Regions from separate parts of the Homo sapiens genome. Here region 1 is linked to region 2. Evidence: promoter capture Hi-C in human tissues and cell types (Jung and others, 2019). All regions are on one chromosome and are shown on one strand. The core of a region is centred on a gene start or on the middle of the fragment in contact, and the rest is flanking DNA. Distances in the headings are between cores, read along the strand shown. Region 1 has its middle 37 kb from the start of PTGFRN. Region 2 holds the start of PTGFRN (prostaglandin F2 receptor inhibitor).

Region 1 (2,700 bases), core at 48-2,547, 37 kb after region 2:
TACTACATCACTGCATATGTAGTGGGTTATGGGAAAGATAACTAATCTTTTAGTTTATGGTTTGTGCTATGGTTTGAATATGGCTCCTCCAAAATTCATGTTGAAACTTAATCCCCAATGTCATCATAGTAAGGGGTCGGGGGGTAGTCTTCAGCAGGTGACGACATCACGAATGAAATTAGTACCCTTATAAGAGGGCCTGAAGGGAGTCTGGCCCTTTTTTGCCCTCCCACCATGTGACAATTCAGCAATAGGTGCCATCTTCGAGGCAGAGAGCCCTCACCAGACACTAAATTTGCTGGTGCCTTAATCTTCGACTTCCTAACCTCCAGAATTGTAAGAAATAAATTTATATTATTTATAAAGTACACAGTCTAAGGTATTTTGTTATTGCAACCTGAACAGACTAAAACAGCTTGCAAGATTGTGAACATCATATCTGGATTTGAAGACGGAGACTACACTTCACTCAGAGATCTTGACTTTGATCTGGAGGCAGTCCCTGGGTTTCTTCCCCTTGAGGAGGGATTGTGTCCTACATGGGGATGCCCATATATTTGGGGAGGCCAAAGGGATAAACTGTAGCAGAGAGACTGTTTAATTGTCTCACAACATTTGTTTTCTTCTATTTTAAAGTATTAGGACCTTAAATGTTTAGCTAGGCACCTGCTGCTAGAAGGACTGCTTCCCAGTCTTCTTGATTCTCTCCCGGTCATGGGATTAACGTTTGGTTAGTTAGATGTAAGTAGAAGTAGTGTGAGCAACTTCTGGAAAGTGTTCTTAAAGGCAGGGAGCTTTTCCTGCTCTCTACCTTTTTCTTCTTTCTCCTGGATGGAATGGGATATGCGGGATGGAGCTCAAGCATTCATTTTGGACGATAGGATGATTTAGGAAGTGGAGATTATGCAGTTAAGGCAGAAAAATAAAAATAAAAAAAATCTGATTCCCTGCACTGTGGAGCCCTTTACCATCTGTGGACTACCTATTCAGGCTTATATGAAAGAGAAATAAACTTTCATGTTGTTTAAGCCACTGGTTTTTTTTTTTGTTATTGTTTTTTAAGGGAGGTGAAGGTGTTGGGGAGTAGGGAGAGTTCAATATCCTGCTGCCAAACCTAATCCTAACTAATTCATGACAAGTTACTTTTTTGAGTTACTCCAGTTTCCCTGAAATGGGCAGATCTGGGGGCCAAAGACCAAAGTGGTTTAGAGAGACCACAAATTGAAGTAAACATGATGCCATCTTATTCTGTGACATGTCAGTTAGAGGAGAATTCCAAGCTTAGGGAATTTGCATTCTGTCATACCACAATTTATATCATCATCAGTATCTCTAGGAAAAAGGGTTACCTATCTCTCTTTGTACTGAGACACTGGAACTTTAGAAACCCAAATTCATTTATTCCTATGGGTTTTAGCCAAGGAACTTGCCTGCAAAGCTTCCTGATTAGACAACCGTCTGCCAGGTTGGTTTGGGAAAAAGTGCTCAACTGGCACAGAATATCTATGGCTCTGGAAAATGACTAAACTATTCCAAACGGTTTTAAAAGCAAATCCATTTTTAATATCTCAACAACTGTTTCAATTTTGTTCTACCTAGTTTGGTATAAATCTATTTTTAATTTCTAGCTCCTTACAGCCTCAATTGACTTCAGTTTTTATGTGGAAATTTTTATATCTTATTTCTTCCAAATTCTACTTTATTAATTTGATGCAGTTGTAGTCTGCCTCTGATTCCACGTAATTACTTAATCATTTCACTATAATATTGACTCAAAGATTTTGTTATTGGTTACCTAAATATTACTAGTTCCCTTCCATTTCCTCTCTTGCACAATGACAGCGCTTGTTTATAAACCTGCTTTGAAATCACCAAGGGTGAGGAGCAACATCAAGATAAAGTACTGTGTTGTTCTTTCCTTGGAAATATGCCTTGGCTTAAATTTGAACTTGGGGTATAAATTGTAGAAGATTCTGCCAAGAGCGCTCCAGTTCTGATATGTGGCGTTAGTTGAATTTCTGCTTCCAAGCAGGTTATTATGCAACTTGAGGGAGATGGGAAAGAAGGGTCAGGCAGGAAAGGATGGATTTTATTCCCGGGCTATAATACTGTCATCATATTCAGAAATCCACATCTCCTTTTCTCCTTCCTTTTCTGCTGTCTCCTTTCCTTCCTCATTTTCTTTTTTGTAAATTTTCCAGTTACTTCCCTCCCACCATCTCCCCTCCCTTTCTGCCTTCCTTCATCCCACAAGTATTCACTGAATACCCTGGTAGTTAATCTTTAAAGATGGTGCCTCGCCAGGCGCCATGGCTCACGCCTGTAATCCCAGCACTTTGGGAGGCTGAGGTGGGTGGATCATGAGGTCAGGGGTTTGAGACCAGACTGGCCAACGTAGTGAAACCCCATCTCTACTAAAAATACAAAAAATTAGCCGGATGTCGTGGCGAGTGCCTGTAATCCCAGCTACTCGGGAGGCTGAGGCAGGAGACTCGCTTGAACCTGGGAGGTGGAAGTTGCAGTGAACCGAGATCATGCCACTGCACTCCAGCCTGGTGATGGAAAGAGACTCTGTCTCAGAAAAAAAAAAAGAAAAAGAAAAAAGTTGGTGCCCCCAGTGAACTTGGAGGGGTCACATGTAGGCACTCCAGACAGTGGGCGGAGCTGAACTCCTGGCCAGTAGCCAGCATCCTGTGTCAG
Region 2 (2,700 bases), core at 149-2,648:
CACATCATGCGCTCTGTGAAAGACTCAGAGCCGCCTTCTCTAGGGGCTTGGAAGAGAACCCCAGGCCAGGTCACAGGAATCATCTTGTCCTGGTTGACACTGACAACAAGGATCCAAGAATATCAAAACATTTAAGAGTCGGCCCTGGGGTACCATGGTGGGCACTTAATAAACATATTTCCGTGGCTGGCTAGGATCACCATGTGGATCTACGTGAAGATGGTGTCTGTGTATGGAGTGAATGGAAAATGGAGAGGGAAAAAACCCACAAAAGATTCCTTGGGTGGGGGGAGGGCGCTGGGCCAAAACCTCACGGGGCACCCAGGGTTTCCGGAGGGTGGAAGACGAGGGGATAGTAAGGGAGGGAAAGTAACAGGTAGAAAAAGTTGGAGAAGCCAGGCTTTTAGGTCTTTGTGTATAAATACGCAGCTAGGCAGCTTCAAGAAAAGCTAAAAGAAAAGACTGAGGCAGAAGATCTAGCCACGACGAAAATGACGGCAGGACTCGCCCGCCGATTTCCATTGTAACGCTCCGGGCCACCCTGTGACCTTCGTGGAAGGAAGTTGGAGGATTCTCTCGCTTCCCTGGAAAGGCAACTCCGCGCGGGTTGGGTGAAGAGCGACCCGGCCGGCGGCGGCTATGGCGGGGCATATCAAAGGCTCACATTTCCGCTCTCGAGCCGAGGACCCGGGCCGGGACCGCAGCACCTTCCGGGCCGGGAGTTCAAGGTGAGCCGGGCTCCCGGCGGCCAACAGGTAGGGAGACCTGGGGGAAAGACGGCCCCGGGCCACTCCCCCCGGCACATGTTGGGGGCGAGGCTCGGCCTGGCGGAGCGGCCACTTGCACCCCGCGCGCGGGGCCCGAGCGGATTCGCGCCAGGCTCCGGGCGGCCCCGCGGCCGCTCCCCGCCGGGCCGAACAACCCGCGCACCCCGGCCGGGTTTCCCGGGAGCAGCCCGGGCACCCTCGGCGCCCCAGGCCGCGCGCTGCAGCCGCGCCCCGCCGAGCCCTCCAGGGCCTCGCCAGTCCCCGTGTGCCCCGCTGAGCCCCGCGCACACTCACCCAACGACAGGAGCGCCAGCAGCAGCGGCCTCGAGGCCAGGCGCCCCATGCTCGCCCGGCGGGAGCGACTCTCCCCCTCCTCCTCCTTCCCCGCCGCCTCTCCTCCTCCTCCTCTTCCAGCTCCGGCTGCTCCAGAGTCGGCGCTCCTCCGCCTGGGCCGCGCGCCTGCTCCGCTCTCCTCGCGAGCCGATAAATCCCAGCGCTGGGGCGTACGTGCGCCCCTGGCTCCGCTCGCTCCCTCCCGCCTCCTTCCCTCCCTCCTCCAGCCGGCCGGGCCCGGGAGCCGGCCCCGCCGATCCGAGTGTGCAGCCCCGACCGCTTCCCGAAAGCAGAAGGGAAGAACCGCAGCGCCCGCCCGCGCCTCCCATCCGGCGCTTTGCCAGCAACAAACACAAACTTTCCCAAGCCCCTCCCCGCTCCAGGTAACGGAGGAAGAGCCGGGGCCACCCGCTTAAAGGCGAGGAGGCGTCGGAGCCCACCCTGCCATCCCCTCTGGGCCCCCACCCCACGAGAAACTTTCCTCCGACCTTTAAAAGTTGGCCTGGGAAAGACTCGTCTGGAAATCCCATCGCTTTAGCCCTATCCCGGGACACCCCGCGTTCCATCACGCTGGAGTCACCCACGCGTGTCTAGTCTATCCTCAGCCAACTCCCCGCTCGTTCGGCCTCTCGTCCTGAGCTAAACACCCCACCAACCAGCCGCTTGGCCTATGCCAAAAATTATGCAGATAGGAGCGAAGGAGCTGAAAGGACTTTTAAAGGCCACGGATTCCAACCTCTACCATACAGAGGCCTTAAGTGTTTCGGTGAGGTGCCCAAGGATTCACAGGGAAGGGGCAAAATCAGAACCCCGCTCTCCTGACTCTGCCCACTCCCCGGTGGCTAGGGTGGGCCTGTCTCCTTCCTTACCCAGCTCCCTCCCTCTCCTCGGCGCCTGTGGCACTGATTAGAACAGCACCCCACAAAGACACCCATTTAAAAAACAAACAAAACCCAAGTGTATTAATAGCTATAGTACTTCATATAGAATGTACTCTTAAGACTTAATATTTATTGCTCTAAGTGGACACCACTGATTGCCAATAAAGACTCATTTTTCCCCCTACAATAGAGTTTTGTGCTTTTGATTTGAATACAAAAGGCCCGACTTGGTTGGGAGAAATGGAGCATTCCTTGCTTGAAACTTAGCAAGCATGATTCAAACACGCAAGGAGCAGCACTGGTGCCCACTGCCCGTCACTGGGCTTTCATTCACATGCAAAACGGATCGCAGATGCTTATGCGGAAACTGCCCACACTGGGGAAGAACACTGCTTTTACTCTCATGCATCCGTCTTTCAACCAACAAATGTTTCTTATTTCCCCACTATCAAATGTGTGATTAGCCAGGTATCTTTGGAAAGAGACTTAAAAATTCATTCCTGGTGGTGCAACGTTATTGTACTTAATGCCACTGAATGGTACACTTAGAAATGTTTAAAATTGCCAGGCCTGGTAACTGGTACTTGTAATGCTAGCTACTCAGAAGGCTGAGGTTGGGGGGGCAGGGGGAGGCGGGGGGCAGGGATGGTGTTGCTTGAGGCCAGGAGTTTTTATTTGTTTTGTCTTCTTTCTTTCTTTCATTTTTGAGACAGGGTCTC

Evidence for each region. Contacts are between HindIII fragments. The study calls those that stand out against the background at their distance.
Region 1: a contact is called between a fragment that was not itself captured here and the fragment with the promoter of PTGFRN in region 2, in 1 of the 25 tissues and cell types used here (aorta).

The regions. Positions count from the first base shown.
Region 1 is chr1:116,871,198-116,873,897 of GRCh38, reverse strand. No RefSeq gene overlaps it. Among named protein-coding and RNA genes, the nearest start is that of PTGFRN, 37 kb to the left of the region's middle. RefSeq lists an enhancer at 2,577-2,700. The HindIII fragment of the contact is 5,519 bases long and covers 1-2,700 here.
Region 2 is chr1:116,908,614-116,911,313 of GRCh38, reverse strand. PTGFRN (prostaglandin F2 receptor inhibitor) reads right to left here and starts at 1,398. Exons shown (of 9, transcript NM_020440.4): 1 at 1,062-1,398. The coding sequence starts at 1,110. The HindIII fragment of the contact is 8,899 bases long and covers 1-2,700 here.